Linked DNA regions of Homo sapiens: regions 2, 3, 4, 5, 6 and 7 are each linked to region 1. Evidence: promoter capture Hi-C in 16 types of primary human blood cells and fetal thymus (Javierre and others, 2016). All regions are on one chromosome and are shown on one strand. Each heading gives the region's core, a stretch centred on a gene start or on the middle of the fragment in contact. The rest is flanking DNA. Distances are from core to core; before and after follow the strand shown. Region 1 holds the start of CCDC71L (coiled-coil domain containing 71 like). Region 2 has its middle 57 kb from the start of SYPL1. Region 3 has its middle 95 kb from the start of NAMPT-AS1. Region 4 overlaps PRKAR2B (protein kinase cAMP-dependent type II regulatory subunit beta). Region 5 has its middle 66 kb from the start of NAMPT. Region 6 has its middle 83 kb from the start of SYPL1. Region 7 overlaps NAMPT (nicotinamide phosphoribosyltransferase).

Region 1 (2,816 bases), core at 211-2,710:
ATGTTCGAACTTCTGTCCACAAAGAGGGGTGACAGTGAAATAGAAAAAGGGGGAGATAAAGAACAAGTAAATTCTGGCTTTATTACACAAGCACGAAACCAAATTCCTTTGGAAAAATAATGTCTTCGGAGGACTTCCAGACCAGTGAGGTAGAGTCCAACAGTGAGAAAACGGATCTGCCCCTAAGGTCCTGGAGACGTCTCAATCGGTGGTCAGGAAGAAAGGGACCTCCCCTGCGGGTCCAGCTGTCCCCTCCCTCCGCAGGCCGGGTACGGGAGGCAGCAGAGGGCACACCTGCCCCAGCGTCCAAGACGACCGCGCCGCGGCCCGGGACAGGGACAACCATCCGGCAACTTCTTCGCGCGTAAAGTGCATTGGGGGCCGGGGTCCTGGCCGGATCTGTAAACACTCGACTGACACTTGTTCATTCCTCCGGGCGGAAGGCCTGTCCCAAGGTCGGGGCCGGCAGGAGGCGCCCTGGAGGCCGCACCTCATGCCCGGGGCACCGGGAAGCGGCGGAGCCTCACCATGGGTTCCAGGTTCACTCGCAGGACCTGGCGCGCCCTGCGCCGCGCTGCCGCCAGGCTGCGCTCGCCCCACACGTCGCTGCCGACGCGGATGGTGGGGAAGGTGGTCAGCGTCGGGGTGGCCGCCCTCCAGATCTCCTCCAAGGTGCGGCCCCCGAAGCAGGGCCCGGGGGCCACGGGCTTGGCCGGGCAGCTCTCCTCGGGGGGCGGCGGCGGTGGGGGTGGCGGCCGGGGCTTCCTCCTGCGGGCAGCGGCCGCCCGGGCTCCGCGGCGCCTCCTCCTGGCCGCTGCGCGCGGAACCGGCCGGCGCGCCTGGCCGCGGGCTGTAGGGGGCCCCGGGGGGTCGGGTACCAGGGCCCGGCAGGAGGAGTAGCCGTAGACGTCCTTGCTGCGCAGGATGTGCGGGGAGAACTGGTGCTTGAGGCTGCAGAGGAAGCTCCAGAGCTCCGCGTCCGAGCTCATGAACTCCGTGCTGCGGGGCATGAAGAGCTTGAAGGCGTCGCCCAGCGCCTTGGTGCTGTCAGCCAGCGACAGTTGCGACCGCGAGTACACCACCTTCTCCTCCCGCGCCTCCAACCCAGCCCCGTCTTCTGCCCTAAAGTCGCCGCCCCGGGCGGCCGTGGCCGGGGCGACCGGGCGCCGGCGCCGCCGCCTCTTCATACTGCGCCGCATCGAAGGCCGCTCCGGGCCACTCACGCTCGCCGGGTCCCACTACTGCCGCCGCCGTCCCAGTCCGCGTTGGCTCCGCGGCGGCGGCTGCTGCTGGCGTCTCTCGCTACTTTTCTCGCCTCCGCCGCCGCCCCTCCCCCTCCGAGGGCGGAGGACGCGGGCGAATATCCTGCTGCCCGGTACAAGATGGCGGCCGGCGCCCACCCCTGGGCTTTGTCATTGGACGGCGCCTCGCCCCCCTGGTTTCTCTTTCTTCTCCTCTCTTGCCTCTTTTCGCCGGCTGCCTTTCTTTAAATGTGCCCGCCTCAGGCCCCTCCCACCGCAGCCCCGACTCCACCCATTGGGTGCTCTCAGAAGAGGGGCGGGGACTGATGGGGGAGAGGCCAGTTCCTGGAAGATGGTGCTGGGGTGGGTGATGGCCTTTGAACGTAAGTCAACGGTTGGGTGGATCTAGGAGGGCTGCCACGTCTAGAGTAAGAGGGTGGATGTTGGCTACACCATGGGAAGAGTGACTCTTAGAGTGAGGGGGTGTGCAGTTGTGGATTGAGCTGGGAGCTCTACCAGTGTGGATAACAAAGGGAGATTTCCCTGAAGGATGTTCCTGGTATCATCACAGCTAGGGAATTTGGGTTTAAGTCTAGGGGAAATGGGCCTTTCGCAATTCCCATCCACCCTCTCAAAGGCCTCTTCTGGCATCTTCATTCAAAACTCTTCCCTGTCTTGACCCCAGCCCATCTCAAGAAGCCAGTAGTAATCCAGAATCATTCAGGTAATGTGCGTGGCTGGCAGCTGAGAGATTTTAGTCTCCCTCTGGACACTGGAGCCATCTTCATATTTAAGAGAGACCCTGCTTATCCAGAAAGCAAAACATGTCATACCCTATAAAACTAAATACTCTTTGCTCAAGTTGATCAAAGATCTATTACAATAAAGCCATTCTGTGAAAAGAAAATATAGTTTTAAATACACAGTTCTTTATGGATGCCAATTCGTTTTTCATTTAGTTTTAAAATGTCAAAGCCACCCCTATCATTTAGAAAGGATGCATCATCGCAGACAACAGATAAGGTTTCGTTGAAAAACACAAATTGTTCAAAACACATTACCTTTTGTATTGGGAGGAGAGTAGTGGACATCCTTTAGTCATCTTTTCTGTCCTCTATACCTAACTCAGTTCCTGTCAGGTAGTGGACACTCAATGTGTTTGCCGAATGAATCAATGAAATACCACCGATTATCCCAAATAGAGTCAGAAATGTTGAAACTGCTTAGAACAGGACAATTAGATATTTTATATTGCAATTTTCACAGAACTCCTTTAAATTTCTTAAGGTTAAAAGAAAAAATCTCCTGACACTTAGAACTTTGAGGTGGGCATGTGGATTTTACCCAGGAAACATCTTATTTTGCAGTAGTGAACAAATAAAGTATAGGAGTTTTGTGATTTACATGTAGTTGCTAATGGTTTCCTCAAATATTTGACCTGAAAGAGACCTAGTTCATTCTCCTTATTTAACAGGTGAGGAAATCTGTACCATAGAGGTTCAGTAACACAGCTGGCTGATAGCAGAACTGGGATTCTAAATCCTTCGATTTCTAATCTAGTGATCTTTGTATTTC
Region 2 (2,700 bases), core at 115-2,614, 490 kb before region 1:
CTGTCTGTGTGGAAGAGGGTGTAGGGGGAGTTTTTGGAGATACCGAACAGCTACTTTAGGTAGTCTCCCTCTCTCAGGCCCCTCCCATGAAGAGCTCCATGCAGTGAAGCCAGTCCAGGTTTTGTGGTTGATATGTTTTGGCTCTATGTCCCCACCCAAATCTCATGTTCAATTGTAATTCTCAGTGTTAGAGGTGGGGCCGGGTGGGAGGTGATGGGATCATGGGGGTGTTTCTTATGAATGGTTTAGCACCATCCTCTTGGTACTGTCGTAATGATAGTGAGTTCTTGTAGTATCTGGTTGTTTAAAGGTATGTGGCACCTCCTGCCTTGCTCTCTCTTGCTCCTGCTTCTGTCATGAGAAATGCCAGCCCCCCCTTCACCTTCTGCCATGATCAGAAGCTTCCTGAGGCCTCCCCAGAAGCAGAAACCTCTATGCTTCCTGTACAGCCTGCAGAACCATGAGCCAATTAAACCACTTTTCTTATAAATTACCCAGTCTCAAGTATTTCTTTATAGCAATGCGATAATGGACTATTAGTCTGGTGGGGCCTGAAGGTTGACGTAATTGTGTGTATGTGAGTGGTCTGTAAGCGAGAGAGCACAAAATTTGGAATAAAAACTAGATACAAAAAGGAACATTTATTTAGAATGAGAAAGATGTCATCAGAAATTAAATTTTTTAAGCTAACGAATGCTAGAAATGTCACAAAATTGGGTTGCCTTTCTTGGTGGCTAGGAGGAATGGACTTGAAAGAGAGGGATGGCGGTTGGAGAATTAGCAATGCCAGAGAAAGGTGAGAGTTCTAGAGGCCCCATGAGTGAGCCAGGGGCCTAAGAGTGGCTGTGAGAAGAACAAGTTCCCTTCAGCTTTTGGAGCACTGGTCCTCAACCGGCAGGAGCATCAGCTGGAAACTGGTTCAAAATGCAGATTCTAGGTCCTCACCCCAGACCAATTGAATCAGAAACTCAGGGATGGGGTCCAGCCATCTGTTTCAACAAGCCCCCAGATGATTTGGAAGCATACTCAAGTTTGACAACCCCTGATGGTAGAGGAGAGTGGAACCCTGTTGTGCATGTGAGCATCTCCTATTAAAAATATAATTACTGGCCAGGCGTGGTGGCTGATACCTGTAATCTCAACACTTTGGGAGGCCAAGGTGGGAGGATCACTTAAGCCCAGGAGTGCAAGATCAGCCTGGGCAGCATAGACCCTGTTTCTACAAAAAAGAAAAAAAATTAGCTGGATATGGTGGGGCACACCTGTGGTCCCAGCTACTCAGGAGACTGAGGTGGGAGAATGGCTTGAGCCTAGGAGGTCGAGGCTACAGCAAGCCGAGATCGTGCCACTGCACTCGAGCCTGGGCAACAGAATGAGACCTTGTCTCAAAAGAGTGGCTGAATTTTTTTTTTTAAATAATGTATTTTATGAGGTGAGTGTAGTGGTGCCCTCAGCTGAGGTAGGAGGCTGAGGTAGGAGAATCGTTTGAGCCCAGGAGTTTGTGGCTGCAATGTGCTGTGATTGCACCCATGAATAGCCACTGCACTCTAGCCTGGGCAATGTAGTAAGAGCCGGTGTTTAAAAATATATCTAGATACACACACACACACACACACACACACACACACACATATTTAGGCAATACACACACAGATGATATCTTTCATAAAGCAAACCAACTCATACAGCTTTTATGTCATGGTTGAGTGTCTGAGAGATAAGTGATACCATCCACCGTGATTGGGTGCTAAAGAGAATACATTTTAAGGCTGGGTGTAGAAGGGAAAATTCTCAAATCTCAGTATTCTCCACAGTATAGTTTATTAGCCAGAGACACATGGTAGGTTGTTTTTCTGCTAAATTTATGCAAGTGATTGTTAAAATTTTGCATCATTTACAAACAACCAAAACCACAACAACATCGAATTCAGGGTAGAAATTTATTTTATTGTTTGCCATTAACTGAGCTAACTTATTTTTCTTTTAACTTTCCATTTTTTCCAGCTTTTCCTTCTGTGTTCATGGTTGGGGTGTTAATAGCATGTCTAAACTAATTGCACTCCTGATGGTCTAATTCTAGTTACTGTCATTTTTGGCAGGAAAATTTTGAGTTTGGCATGCTCTCACACTGCACACAGGCATGCTAAATTAGCTGAGAAGAATCTGAGAATGCTAGATTTTTATAACCAGGCAGAATAAGTCCAAAAATACCATCAAGGATTGTACAGAACAGTTAAGAATTCTGCTTGGTAGGCACTGGGCATAGAGCTGCCAAAACAACAAAACAAAACAATAAAACCTAAAAAAGAATTGCATCCACTCCAGGGAAAGCTTGTCTGATGAACTCTCTTGCCACTCTGGTTTTATTGGTGTGGACCTTCAGGATGCGTATTAACGTTTTAGTGAAGAGGTCTTTGGGCTACACATGACATGACAGAAACCCAACTTGAACTGATTCTTACAAAGAGAGAATATATCACCTCTCATAACTGAGAAGACTAGGAGGAATCAGGCTTCAGGCATGGCTGCCTCCAGGGGCTCAAATGATACTGTGTTAGGCAGTCTCTCAAATGGCTCTCAATGATCCTGGCCTCCTGGTACTCACGCCCTGTGTAATCCCCTCCCCTTGAGTGTAGTTGGACCTAAGATCTGCTTCTAACAAATAGAATACAATAAAAATGATGGGATGTCGTTTCTGAG
Region 3 (2,700 bases), core at 84-2,583, 280 kb before region 1:
TAAGTTTAGCATTCTAGGACTGTGCATGTGAGATGCTCTGTGTAGAGAGGGGGTTATAGGAATTTGATTCCTGCCATATCTGAATTTACAAACCTAAAAGTGAATACACGGATATGGACACACTGCCATGGGTTCCACCAGCTCTGGAGCTAGCCTCTACAAGGGATGACCGAAAAGGGGCTGGGGATTAGGAGTTAATAGCTTTCCAAGCCCTGGTGGATGTGAAACTATAATCAGGGCACCTGGCTTATGGTCATTAGCATCTGCCTTTACACCAAGGCCCTGCTGCCCGGGCGCAGATGTTAAAGACCTTTCCGGGAGCTCCCCATGCCTCCCCCATCACGGATCTGTGTAACCCTGCTGACAAAACATGATGCAGGCTCCCCACTTTAGGCCATATGCTTGGGAAAAACATCCTTCTGGCAGAGACTCCTGGGGGAAAGGAAAGGCATAACTCTTTGATCTTGATCCCTAACAAAGAATTTATCTTGGGATCTTTGAAATCTTGGAAAAAAAACAAAAACAAAAACCCTGTACTTTCAAAGCTTTTCTTGTGTGATGTATTATAAAACAGGGGGACAAATATTGTCCTCTGGGGTAAATATTCCTTTGTTCTGGAAAGACACTACAATGGATATTTAGTTATTAAAAGGAAAAGTAAATATTCTCAAATACAGAAATTTAGACCCTGCCTTTCCGAGGGGTTCCGGTGTCATGCACAAAAACATAAAAGGCTGTTTTCATCGTGGATGGTGTTGCAGTTCTGCAAATTGTTTTCTACAGGAAAATGTTTAAAGATTTATTCTGCAGAGCCTATGAAAATTGTTTTGCTTTCTTGAAAAATATGTGGATGTCCTTTTTGGAGTGGAGGCTGGAAGCTCTCGGGGGTGAGTGTGGGGCACTGGAGTCCTATCCTTACTCAGGCTGGTGAAGAGATCACCAGGGGGCCCAGATTTAAAGTGGGGCTTGTTTGAAGCAGCACTATTTGCGACATTCTATACTAACTCAGACTTTGGAAAAGGACTGATGTGTAATTTACTGCCTCCTAGTTCATTGTCCAAGGTAAGACCAACTCTCCCTGAATGGGAAGGACATTTCAGCTGTTAATCATGCACAAAGGGGAGAAAACAGAGAGAACCTGGGGAATATTGAGACCAGGATTGCAGACAAGAACCCTATGGGCAAGAGAAAAACTGGAGGCCTCTTCCCCTCTCTCTGGTGGGAGGAAATGCAGAGTCTAGGACTAGTGAAGCTTGCTGGGAGCTGGGCTGAGAGGTGCCCAATAAAGGTTGTACGTGGAGAGGCTCGGCCTGTAAACTTTATGATTCCACATTTCTAGTATCAGTTTTGACTTTCTCAAAGTGATCATTCCTGTGTGCCATTTCCAAATCTTTACTAAAGTCCTGTTACTCATTCAAGCTTAGGTTTAGCCATGCTATTGAGGGAATTAGAGGCCTCAGTGATCACAAGAACAGCTCACAGGACAACTCTGGGAGGGACTGGCAGCAAAATAAATGAGATCTGAGGAGGAGCAGAAGCTAAAGATATGGATGGAAGGAATGTTGCAGGCACAACTGTGGCTGCAGATTAATGGCGTAGCTTCGTGAGATAACCCTTGTCCCCAGATATACTAGAGCGGATAGGGTCTTCAAAGAGGGAAGCCAGGACCTACTATATATAAGTTAGTGGGGGACACCAAGTTTGCAAACATAGGTTACATTTAGTAAGGTTTATCCTTTGCATAGAACGAGAAAGGGCAAAGGCTTGCGGGGCCCTGTTCTTTGAAGGAAGAAAGGGACTCAGAGGGCTAAGTACACTGTGGGAAAGAAAGAATGAGTGTATGGAGAGGGGTAATAAAAATGCTTTTTTTGGGGGGTGGGGTAGCAAACAGCAATATGTAGGAGACAGAGCATCAGAGACAAGCAACTTGTCCTAACTTACCACACATGGGGTGCAGTCACTTAGCTTTCCATAGACTTTAAGTTCCCACAGTGAGCAGTTTGTTTTTTGAGGATGTTTCTGGTGTGCCCCTCTGTGTTCCCTCCATGTGCACATCTGCCACCACGATGCAGCAGTTTGACATCCCTTCTCTCCAGTCTTTGCTTTCTTATCAGATCTCTCCAGGGACTCTACTTTCAGCAACTGTGATCACAGCATCTGATGGTCAAAATAGGCAAGTGCTTCTGTGGAGCTGTGTTCTTTGGTCTAATGACTCAAATCTAGATTTGATGGCGTGGGGAAAATGTGCTCAGGGAACTTCACTACAATGATGTATCTCAACAGGTACAGCAGTGGGAATGGTGGGCTCCTCCGCTGCATATATCTTTTCCAATTTTGTGTATTAGGAACTCAGATCCTACAGACATATCTGTAACTACTCGTCTATAACTCCTGGGCCGTTTTCCTTGTGTTTTCAGTGACAGTATTAGACTGGCACACATAGGTGCTTATACACATGTTGGACAAATGAGTTCATGACATCTATGAATAGCTACAGGAATCATTTTCAAAGACAATCAGCCAGTCATATTGTCCACAAAGGGTTTTGTGCTTTTTCCAGATGTGAGAGGCAGTGTGGGAGATATCATTTAGATGCTGAAAAATTGGAATTTGGAGACATTTGGAGATTTCTGAAGTTCTGCAGAATTTTACAAATCAAGAGCATCGTTTAAAAGAGATGTGTAATCATCACATAGTACT
Region 4 (2,700 bases), core at 59-2,558, 490 kb after region 1:
GTATTATATTTTGTGCTTGACGAAATAAAAATATGAAATGAGTTGCATTAAAAGTATAATGATGTTAATCTTTTATTTCAGAATCTTCAATCATTGTTTCTTGTAGGGAATAAAATAAAACTATTTGTATAGCTTTACCCCCATAAAATTTACCCTTTAACTGTTCTGCCTGTAGGACAGGGTAACCTTCAGGAGAATAATTGTGAAAAACAATGCCAAAAAGAGAAAAATGTATGAAAGCTTTATTGAGTCACTGCCATTCCTTAAATCTTTGGAGGTAAGTATATGTTTATGCTTTTATTTTATTTTGCTTTAAAAGTTTCTGTTTTGCTAGGAATATTTAGTTCTATAGAAAAATTTCTTTGAATAAAAAAAAATCTATCCATGTTTTTATTTGAAAAGATTAAATGGTAGTGCTAATTTTTATAACTCATTGTTTCTTCTGCTATCTATAATTTCATTTGTTTTGTTATTTGAAAGTAATACATTCCTACCCAGCATCTATAGCAAATTTATATGTGGTCTTTATCTGATAGCAGACTTAATATAATCACATAGATGTAGACAAGAGCCACTAGTTGTAACTTTACAGTGAGGCGTTCTCTAGATATAGAATGTCCTCTCTGGCCTCTTCCTCTCAGTCATCTTTGCTGTTTATTCCTCTTTTCTTCTCCTCTTAAAACTGGCATTCCAGGCCTCTGTCCTTGGCCTCTTCTCTTTTCAGGATACACTTATTCACTTGGTGAACATGTCGAATCCCATGGCCTTAAATACAGATGTCCCTTGACTTACTATGGGGTTACCTTACGAATAAACCCATTGTGAGTTGAAAATATCATAAATAGAAAATGTATTTAATACACCTAAACTATGGAACATTCGAGCTCAGCCTAGCCTACCTGAAACATGCTTAGGACACTCACATCAGCCTACAGCTGGGAACAGTCACCTGGCAGCACAGTGCACTGGAGAGCATGGGTTGTTCACCTCATTGTGGTGAGGCTGGCTGGGCGTTGTGGCTCTCTGCCTGGCGTTGTACTGCATATCGCTAGCCTGGGAGAAGATCGAAACTCAAAATTAGAAGTATAGTTTCTATCGCTTTCAAACAACTGTAAGGTTGAAAAATCATTAATCAAGCCACTGTAAGTCAGGGACCACCTGTACTGTCCATATATTGATGCTTCTTAAAATTGATATCACTGGGCAAGGCCCCTCCCTTGAAGGTCAGACTTACTTATCCAACTGCAAATGTAAGATTTCCTCTCAGATGTCTAATAGACATCTCAAACCTAGTATGTCCCAAATCTACTCCTTTTCTCTTTCCCCGCAGATGGCAACATATCCTTCCAGTGTCTCAGGCCAAAAACCTTCGAGTTAGCACTGACTCATATGAACCACCATCACCTCTTGCCTGGCTAATTGCAGAGTCATCTTTTAAAATCCCTGGTTGTGGCACTGCTCTATTTAAGCTCCTCCTCACATGGCCTCTAAGGCTCTGCACAGACTGTCCCATTCCCCCACCCATTTTCCCCAACCTCATTTCCTACTGCTCCACACTCATCATCTCTCTGTTGACACATCAGCTTCTTGCCACTCCTCAAACACACCTGTCCCACACCCACTTCGGGGTCTTTGTACTTGCCGTCTGTCTGGAATGTCTTCCTACACAGCTGCAGGGCTCCTTCATTTCTCAGCCCAGAGGTCTTCTCAATGAGACCAGCTCTTAGGTTTTTATCTTTGAAGGTAGAGACTTATGAGAGAGAGTAGGTTGTTGTTACCCTAAAAATTCAGCTTCATTTTCCATACTTCATCATTAAATTAAATGCTTTTCTATTTCACTGTCATATTTGAAGTATTTTGAGAGTAATTAAAGACAGGCATATATATGTACCCACAACATCTTATAAAATGGCAAGTGTCAAAACAGCAGTGCTTCTCCTTTTGAATGTCTCTGTTGGATTATCAGCTTACATCTGGTAAAAATTTTGTCCACATCACACAGTGCGTGGTAGACAGCTGATCTTTTCCAGCAGCATATTTCTTTAAATAAGAGTAGGTCAGGGATTGGAAATCTGGTGCCTTCAGAGCTAGGCAGGTAACACAGAGAAGAAAACCAAGCCAGGAAGGGACTTTGGCAGATTGGAGAACATGTATTTCATTAAAGAAACAGCTGCTATCCCACCATAGTTTTATTGTTGCCATGTGGAAATATGGGCTATGTGATGCTGATTTTTCAAGAGAAGCTGGAGATTGAATTTTTATGAAAAATTATTTTAAAATGCTGGCTGGTAATTAATACAACAAACACATATACAACCTACACACTGCTCGATTTATTTGGCCTATAGGCTACCAGTTTTTTACTCCCGAACTAGATAAGCTTACCCAGTTAATTTGTTTCTATTTAATATTGTTTTTCTTTCTTTGTAGTTTTCTGAACGCCTGAAAGTAGTAGATGTGATAGGCACCAAAGTATACAACGATGGAGAACAAATCATTGCTCAGGTATGATATTTTGAAATGTAATTCAGTTTAGGGTTATATTCCAAAAGGTTCCTGTAGTGGTAGATCTTGATAAACTTTTCATATTTCTAAAATTAGTATGCAGTGATGGGTTAAATAAATATTACTTCTACCAAATGACCTGTTAAAAATGGTTTCATTTATAGTCATTACTCTATTGAATATTTTTGTTTATGT
Region 5 (2,700 bases), core at 25-2,524, 440 kb before region 1:
TCTCCTTGCAAGATTGTTCTTAGTGTCCTTGGTAGCCCAGTGTCCCCTGGTTAAAAATGGCCTTAGGGAAAGAATTTGCGGAAAAGATGGCTATCTGAAGAAGATGACCACATCTCCTTTTTGGCTTTGTCTATTCTGTTCAACAGCTCCCATTCTGATTTTTTCCATAGGGTTTAGCAGATCTGGCATCAGCCTGCCACTCTTGGTTAGGGTTAAGTTTGAAGAGGCAGTGTAACAGTGGAGTGGCAGGATGGGATGGTAGTGAAGGCTGTGGCCTTTAGAGCCAGACTGCCCGAGTAAGGTACCTAGCCTTCTTGGTCATCAATTTACTTATCTGTGAAATGGGCAACCATAATCGTTCATGACTGCAATATTGAAAGCTTTGAAACTAAGATTTTTAGTAACTCACTTGAGGCAACACCTGTCCTGAGTTAATCTGAAACTGTTTGGAAGGAAAACTTGACATGAAACTACTTATAATCATTATTTATTCCATTTTTTAAATATTAGTGCATTTTGTTTGATTAGGAGACAGTCATAGACCCTTCCAGGGGAGTTATATAATTTATAATGTAATTTATAATGGGCCATACTTCTTAAAATCTGAAAAATTTTGAATTCCAAAACACTGGGCTTCAAGAATTTGGATAAAGGACTGTGAACCATTACTGTCCTTCCTAAAACATGGCAGCTAAAATGAATGTGAGCTGGCAGTTGTGGTTAATGTGCCAGCTCAAAGTTAAATGGGGAGTGAGAAGGTGTCTGGATGTCATGGAGTCATTCTCCAAACTTGCATTTCACCCTTGTGGGTGAGATGGTAAAATGTGGCTCAAATGATACAGTAGGAGGATTTTCCAGGCCTCACAGGAGTGTTTTTTGGGGGGAGATCTTACGGTGCTCCAGCTCTGGCCATTCTCCAGCTAATGGATTCAGAGGTGATTTCTGATAAATGGGGGTTCTTTTGGTTTCAGGTAAGCAACAGAAGTCCACATAAACTAGCTCAAGCTAGAGGATTATCAACGAAGCCAAAGTCAAGAGGCAGCTGGGCCTTAGGGATGTTCTGGAACTAGGAATGAAAGCACCGTGGACAGTTAAGGCTTCCCTCACTCTCTTTTTCCTGCTTGTATGCAAGTCCATCCATCCATCCATCTGGCTGCAGAGCAGCTTTCTCTGCTTACTAATCCACTTGGCAAAAACCAGCTACTGTCAACAGCTTCTGAGCTGTCTCTCCTGCATGAATTCCAAGCTCCCCAGGAGTAGGACATGGGCTTGGCCCATTGGGCTAAGGAGATGCGGTGGTGTGTGGGGTCAGGTCACCCTGCCCAAACATGGCTTCTCCCTCAGTAACTTTGTGGATGGAGAGGAATGGGCAGCTACTAGTAAAATGTGGGAAGGTTGTGTGGGGAAACTGTGTGAAGGTTAGAGAGCAGAAGAGTTGGATTGAGCAGACCCTGGTTCACACCAAACCAAAAACAAATAGTAAAGTGATGAGCAGGTAGGACAGGCTATAAGCAGAGGTGTCTCTGATCCTGTATCTTGAAGGAAAATCACACTCACCTTCACTACCACATCTGTTTGTACCAATGGCGGTTTTTTAAAAAAGGCAAGGTGAGAAACTGATCAGTTCAGGAAGGCGCTATCTGGTTCTTGTTGGGGTAGGATGGGGGAAGGTATAGAAAGGAAGATAGAGCAACAGCACTAGAGAACAAAGGGATGGTTGAAGTGTTTCACCTCCCCAGTCTATCAGTGCACAGGCTGTGCCTGGTTTCCTTCCACACAGCTGTGTCTCAACATCAGAACAAAGGATTTCCTCTGGGCCCTTTTGTACAGGTCGACCCAAGATCCTTCCTTGCCTATCAGCTCCTGGGGGCTATGACCACTTTAGATGTGGCCCCGCCTCATTCTTCCTGCTGAGAGACAAAATCAGGAGAAGTCCAGTTCCCAGGAAGACAGTAGGAGGAAGATTAGGAGGAAGGAGTCCCTGCTGTCCTTCCCATGGTAGAAAAACCATGCCTTCCTCCCCAAGATTTCACTTAATTGCTACTCCTTTAACTGTGTAGTTACCTTGCACTTGGCATGTTTACTGGGTGGGACAAAAATCAAGGGTCTGCTTGAGGACTTTTGGAGAGGAGACAAATCCAAATACCTTCTGACTTGGGAGCCACTTACAAGCTTAGGTCCAATCTGTATGATTGGAGAAAGTAGCCCAGGACTATCTTTTCATATAGATGCAGAGGCGCAGAACAAATAAAGCCCCATTCTTTGATAATTTACCTGGGGTTCAGAAAGTTTATTCTGAGCTTAATTCCATAAGATCTTCTCCAAATATATGTTGCAGTCACTGGCTCCTTCTTGGCATTTGAGCTAACATGGAACATTTTCCTCTCTAGCCCTCCTAGTTCTGTGATTTAGATTGACCATGAGGGCAAGGTAATAGAGGAGGAAGGTGAGGAAAGGACCAGAAATATGATGTGTCTGCAGACAGCAGGAGTATCTAGTCTTGTAAGCTGTTGCCTCCCTGATGCAGCCCTAGATTCCCTAGAAAGGACCTGCTCCTGCCCCCACCAGTTGCCATGGCAGCAGGTTCCAAGTAACTCCAGCCCAAAGTTTTACACTTAAGAGGCATGCAACCAACAGGTAAGTAATGACAAGAAGGGCTGTGTGTGCAGTTTGGGTAAGATCAGGCCCTGGTAGAAAGAG
Region 6 (2,981 bases), core at 427-2,926, 470 kb before region 1:
GCAGAAATCAGAGGTGGGCTGAGGGATGTGATGTAGACACCAGAGGCATTTGCTACATCAGGTTTGTAGGAGTTAGGGATTAGGTGGCTGTGATAGTTCAGCTCCTCCAAGAAGCAGATGTTAAGGTGGGAATAGATGTGCAAGGACTGTTTTGGGGGATATGCCTTGAGGAATAGGAGGAGGGAGCTGGAGGAGGCTGGGAGAGCTGTCAGACTGTGATACAAGTCTGCCCCTGGGGAGGAGAGAGGGAAGGAGGAAAGGTTGGGTAGAAAGTCTTAGGTTGTGGTGCAGGTCTAGGAAAGGTTCAGCCAGGCTGATGGGGAGGCCTCAAGCGAAAGTCCTCATTGGAAGAGTCCTGGTTTCACAGGCATAGACCTGCCTTTGTGCCCCAGCCTGCATGAAGCATGGCCTCTGTGCAGACAAACACAGTGGTGGATTCTGAGCACCTCAGCTCAGCTGTCAGGCAGTTATTCTCCCTGCAATCATTGATCTGAAAGGTCTATTTTTATGGCTGCCACAGGTAGTGTCATGCGTGGACAGCACAGGTAGCTGCAACAAAGCTTGTATTCGGGGGAAACCAGAGGTCATGCATCCGTATATGCTAACATATCTCCTTCCTCTTCTCTTTCTTGCACCATAAGGGAGCAAGACTTTTGTTTAATTGTTGCCCTCCCTTCTGGCTCAATTCTGAAAGAAGTAACAGATTGAATCAGTAACACTTGCAGATAAACACATTATCCAAATTCTTTAATTCTATGACGGATGGAAGGGTTCTGGGACAACACGAGGGCATATGGAATTAAGGAAAAGGGCACAGATCTGAAGGACTGAGGGCCACACTGGACACTCTTTCCAATTATGCCACAGCCCGCCTGCTGGAAGTGGAGCCAAACCAGCATTCAGACTCTGTAGTGCATAGCAGGTGAAATGTCCTTCAAATGAAGTGTCTGTCCAGCGCCACTTTTTTCTAAATCTGGAATATTTTGAGGGAGGGTGTATTTTTCTGAGTGGTTTGAGAAATTAAATGAATATTGCCTAGGTGGCTGGAATATTTGAGTGAGGAAGTGGGGTTGGGGGAGGAAACGATCCCAAGATTTTTCAGATGGCGATCCATGAGCCACTTGGAAAAGAATCCCAAAAACTTAAAAATATTAATTTCCTGTTTTCCCTGACCCATGTCCCCTCACACAAGATCAACTGATTTAGAACTTCCGGGGATGAGACCCAGGAATCAGTAATTTTACCAGTGTTTCTGGTGATTCTTGTGAACACTAACATTGGAGAACCACGGGTTCAAAGCTAATTGTAGTAGGACAAAGGACATAAAGATCATAGCTAGGGCAGTTTAGTTTCTAACACATAATTGAGGTCTTTCTATATCTTCTCTCCTGAACTGTAGAAACCAACTGCCTCCAACTTCCAGCTATGTCCTTGATATCCCAAACTCAGTGTGTACATAGCCAAACACCTAATCACTGACCTGGTCCTTGCTAAGATGCTTCTCCACCAGCCTTCCCCATTACAGTATTGACAGCTGTGTCCTTTCCCATTTGCTCAGACCAGGCTCATCTGCCCCCACCCTACGCCACCCCTCACACTTCATAGCATCCAGTTAGCTCAGTTTCACAATATAGCCAGAATCTTCTTAACACTTCTCTCCACCTCCATTGCTCCCTTCCTGTTCTGATTGCCATAATCACTCATTTGACTTTCGACAAGAGCCTCCTGACAGGTCTGCCTGCCTCAGTCTTTGCAATTCGCCCTGCCCCCACCTTGACCCTTGGCTGAAAACCACTCAATGGCCCCCTACTTCTCTTCAAGTAGAAACCAAAGTCCTTACAGTGGCTTAGTTAGGACCCCAACTATGCCCTGACCTCATCTTCTATTCCCTCATTTCTTCTGCTCTAGCCATGCTCGCCTCCCTGCTATCCTGGAGTACGTGAAGCATGGCCTTGCCCCAGGACCTTTGCACTGGCTGCCCTTTCTGCCTGGACCCCTCTTCCCTCGGATCTCTGGGTAACTCTTTCCCTCACCTCCTTTGCTTAAGTGTTACCTTCTCCGTGAGGCCTGCTATGACCTCCCCTATTTAAACTGCAACCCTTCCTGTTCTGAATTCCCTTTACCTGTCTTGATTTTTTCTGCATAGCACAGCGTATTCTAATATGCTATATAACTTACTTATTATGTTTATTTCTTACCTCTCCCCAACAGAAGGTGAGCTCTAAATGGACAGGGATTTTTGTTTTATTCACTGCTAGACCCCAGGGTCTGGAACAGTGCCTGGCATATGGAAGATATTCAGTAAATGTTTGCTAAATGAGTGACTGAATTGCATAGAGTGGAATGAGAGGAAGCACATGTTTTTATGAAATGATTCCTTATAGAGAATTTTCCATATCCAGATCAAAAGAGGCCTGTGAGTTTAGATCATCCACAGAAAGATACAAATCACTTCGGAAGAGTGAGCAATAAACTTTAATTCAGTGTTTACTGTGTGCTAGAAACGACGCTAAACATTTTCACCAGCATTATCTCTTTAAATCATTCCAACAACCAACCCTATCATGGGAGTCTACTGTTCTTATTTTACAAATGGGAGAGTTGAGGCCCAGAGAGGTTAAGGAACTTGTCCAGGGTTGCACAGCTAAGTGTCAGACTCAGAATGTGACCTAATGCTGTGAGTCCAAAGTCTGAGTAGACTGCTGCTTCAGAGTGTGGCCCTTCCTAGTGATACTTCTGTTTAAGTGTCTGTTTACTTAACCTCTATTGGTCCCTTTAAAAATCAAAGTTTACAAGCTTGAAGCTGTGGCTCATACACTTTGTGCTTAAAAATGTTTATTTTGATTATGCTAATATTGCTTCATTGTTTATTTAGCTGAGTTTCTGTGACACTTGTAGGAACATGTGCTCTCACCTCTGTGTACTTTTTTTTGTTGTTTTTGAGACAGGATCTGGCTCTGTCACCCAGGCTGGGATGCAGT
Region 7 (2,700 bases), core at 127-2,626, 410 kb before region 1:
TAATATTTCTCCCTATGTATACACAGGCCCCGTGTTTATGACGTAGACACTTGTTTTGTATCTTATTTTGGTAGGCCAGGTCAGCAATTGGACATTTTATAATAAAATATAATACTTTGTCTTCCACAAAAACAATAACATAAAAACCTCCTTTCTTATTAATTTGGTGAGCCAACCTACTATTGCTTAAAAAAACCAATCAGCATAGATACATACCTGACCATATTCCTCAAGGTCTCCTTTTCCTTCCTCCAGTGTAACAAAATTCCCTGCTGGCGTCCTATGTAAAGATAATCGGCCCTTTTTGGACCTTTTGTTGGGATCAGCAACTGGGTCCTTGAAGACGTTAATCTGAAATCCAAATTAAGAAAGTTAGACAAGTAGAAGACTAATCATCAGAAATGTCTAAACACTCCCTTACAAAAAAGCACATACATAATTTACATTTAAGTTTTAAGCACTTAATAGGTATAACTGAACCAATCCACATCTGGCTTTCAGAAACATAACACTTTAGCCTGTTTTGAAGGATAGTCGTTTGTAATAAAGAAAAAGTATGACATCTTGGATATCCTTTTTGCCACTGAAGAACACCTAATACTCCATTTGTAGGAAGTCTGTGAGCATTCTAACATGTGACCCTTAAGGTATCTCTTTATATTACAAACTGCCTTTAAACTGACAGTAAGCACAGCATGTACATGCTGTTGAAGAAAAGCCCAACTATACCAACTACGCCAAAACCACACACACAATCTTTGGAGAGGGAACAAGAGTATTACTAAGGTAAAGGCTTTCCTATTTCATAACGTATCCCTCTTTTGGTACTTTTTACTTTTGCCTTGTTATTGTCAGAAGCAAAAGTCTTAGAGAACCTGAAGACAGCAGAGTGTTTCTACATCAGAAAGGTAGGCAGCAAAGAAACAGAAACAAGTGGCAGTGGAACAAGCAGCAACAAATGAGTCAATCCCAGAACTTTCCAAAGAAAGATCAAAGAGTGAAGCAGGGAATCAACTCAGGTGTTCTTAATTCTTAGCATCCTCCTGCCTCTGTCCCTTGCTCTATAGAATCTCCAGCTCTCAAGACGTTACAAAGAAGCAAGGGGGGTTGTTGTTCACTTGCCTAGCTGTTCTATGGCTACTAGAACATGACTGTGGTATAACAATCCAAACCTCATATTCTACCTTCCTGTAACAGTTTGGTCAGTGATTATATACTTGCTTGTCTTTAATATATGATGGCTAGGTAAGCTGACATTCCTACTCAAATATTACTTTTTGATCTAAAGGTAAAAACGGCAGTGGGAAATGACTGACCTGTATTATCTCTCTTAAATAATCTTTTTCCTTATTGTTCTTCCTTTTTCCAAATCTCTGTCTCCTTAGGTCTGTTATTACCTAATATCTCCCTTCTTTCCTTGTTTCTGAGTTAAGGTCAGTAGTACCCAACAACATATTAACAGTCCACGGCCACATCAATCTTTGACAAATGCACTCAATAACCACATTCTACCTAGATACATAAGGAAGGTAGTAACACAGAAGTAATTAAAAGGTGACATACCCCAAGGCCATTAGTTACAACATAGCTACACTTGAAGGAACAATTCAAGAGATCTCTTGTCAACTTCTGTAGCAAACCTCCACCAGAACCGAAGGCAATATTTTCAATACTCCACATTTTTTGTTTCATGCCTTCTACAATCTAGAAGATTAAAACAAAACAAAACCAAACCAAACCTTAATTTGGAAGAGAATGGAGATTATTTTCAAGGGACAATATTGATGAATGAAGCATCCAAGACTGTTTTATAACACGGTCAATAAATAATTATAGCCCGCATTTTGTTTTTAAAGACCCACCCACCCCCAAAAGATGGATATGTGTGGAAGGAGAGGATTTCATGCATAGTTCCTGAATCTGCATTGCTGTCACTGTGGTTCTGGTAGGATTCGGGGAGTGAAGGAAATGAGAGAAAGTGAGAAAAAACTAGCTATAAATATCTAAGATTACTTGAGTCAACTTCTCTCATTCACCTCGTTAAGTTATTGTCCAGATCTCAGCAACACAAGCAATGGGAGCCAATTTACTAGACTCTAGGAATGACTGTAATCATCACCAATAAGTCACAATACACTGTATAATTACATGTCATATGTAATGGAACATGTAAGAATCAAAGATATTGGTGGCAAAAGAGTATAAAATACTTCTCCTATATAACAGTTGGTATACTGGTAGAGTCATTTTATTCTGGCTGATATACCAGTGCCAGAAACAAAATTATGCACAGGTGCTGTGGGTGTTAAGATTACTGTATCATTTTTGGGAGAATGATTAGTTATAAACCAGCTAGAGAGACCTGTATGAACAGTTCTAAAAGAGTTCTTTCAAGGGACATACAACTTTAAAGATGTGTTTATTACCAATGTCATTTGTATTTCTTTCACCAAAGTCAAGTTTATTTACCTAGCATCTGCCTTAATATATTCAATCACTTTGATGATAGAATGTGGCAAGTGAAGTTTGGTAACCATTTATTTCATGAGAATAGTCAAACAGAAAGCAACTGGAAAGGCTGACTCTGTTTTAAACAGAACTTTCAGAAGTTATTAGAAAATCATAAGTGTAACAGCCTTATGTGTATCAAAGTTACCACATTCTCACCAAATAGTCTCAAATTGACTTTTTTAATAGTCT

Evidence for each region. The method cuts DNA at HindIII sites, captures the fragments that hold promoters and counts their contacts. A CHiCAGO score of 5 or more calls a contact.
Region 2: a fragment that was not itself captured here is called in contact with the fragment with the promoter of CCDC71L in region 1 in 7 of 17 cell types (M1 macrophages, M0 macrophages, endothelial precursors and 4 more); the score reaches 11.7 in M1 macrophages.
Region 3: a contact is called between a fragment that was not itself captured here and the fragment with the promoter of CCDC71L in region 1, in 1 of 17 cell types (neutrophils). The highest score is 6.0, in neutrophils.
Region 4: a contact is called between a fragment that was not itself captured here and the fragment with the promoter of CCDC71L in region 1, in 13 of 17 cell types (M2 macrophages, M1 macrophages, M0 macrophages and 10 more). The highest score is 11.9, in M2 macrophages.
Region 5: a fragment that was not itself captured here is called in contact with the fragment with the promoter of CCDC71L in region 1 in 2 of 17 cell types (neutrophils and endothelial precursors); the score reaches 8.0 in neutrophils.
Region 6: a contact is called between a fragment that was not itself captured here and the fragment with the promoter of CCDC71L in region 1, in 2 of 17 cell types (neutrophils and monocytes). The highest score is 5.7, in neutrophils.
Region 7: a fragment that was not itself captured here is called in contact with the fragment with the promoter of CCDC71L in region 1 in 1 of 17 cell types (M1 macrophages); the score reaches 5.8 in M1 macrophages.

What each region holds. Positions count from the first base shown.
Region 1 is chr7:106,659,698-106,662,513 of GRCh38, forward strand. CCDC71L (coiled-coil domain containing 71 like) reads right to left here and starts at 1,461. Exons shown (of 1, transcript NM_175884.6): 1 at 1-1,461. The coding sequence starts at 1,199. The coding sequence ends at 492. RefSeq lists an enhancer at 235-284 and a silencer at 635-904. The HindIII fragment of the contact is 5,408 bases long and covers 1-2,816 here.
Region 2 is chr7:106,168,309-106,171,008 of GRCh38, forward strand. No RefSeq gene overlaps it. Among named protein-coding and RNA genes, the nearest start is that of SYPL1, 57 kb to the left of the region's middle. The HindIII fragment of the contact is 1,930 bases long and covers 400-2,329 here.
Region 3 is chr7:106,379,358-106,382,057 of GRCh38, forward strand. No RefSeq gene overlaps it. Among named protein-coding and RNA genes, the nearest start is that of NAMPT-AS1, 95 kb to the left of the region's middle. The HindIII fragment of the contact is 167 bases long and covers 1,251-1,417 here.
Region 4 is chr7:107,150,747-107,153,446 of GRCh38, forward strand. PRKAR2B (protein kinase cAMP-dependent type II regulatory subunit beta) reads left to right here. Exons shown (of 11, transcript NM_002736.3): 7 at 176-277; 8 at 2,431-2,505. Among named protein-coding and RNA genes, the nearest start is that of HBP1, 17 kb to the right of the region's middle. RefSeq lists an enhancer at 1,131-2,330. The HindIII fragment of the contact is 2,140 bases long and covers 239-2,378 here.
Region 5 is chr7:106,217,564-106,220,263 of GRCh38, forward strand. No RefSeq gene overlaps it. Among named protein-coding and RNA genes, the nearest start is that of NAMPT, 66 kb to the right of the region's middle. The HindIII fragment of the contact is 1,792 bases long and covers 379-2,170 here.
Region 6 is chr7:106,193,982-106,196,962 of GRCh38, forward strand. No RefSeq gene overlaps it. Among named protein-coding and RNA genes, the nearest start is that of SYPL1, 83 kb to the left of the region's middle. The HindIII fragment of the contact is 2,236 bases long and covers 559-2,794 here.
Region 7 is chr7:106,252,801-106,255,500 of GRCh38, forward strand. NAMPT (nicotinamide phosphoribosyltransferase) reads right to left here. Exons shown (of 11, transcript NM_005746.3): 9 at 1,564-1,704; 10 at 217-351. Among named protein-coding and RNA genes, the nearest start is that of NAMPT, 31 kb to the right of the region's middle. The HindIII fragment of the contact is 3,841 bases long and covers 1-2,700 here.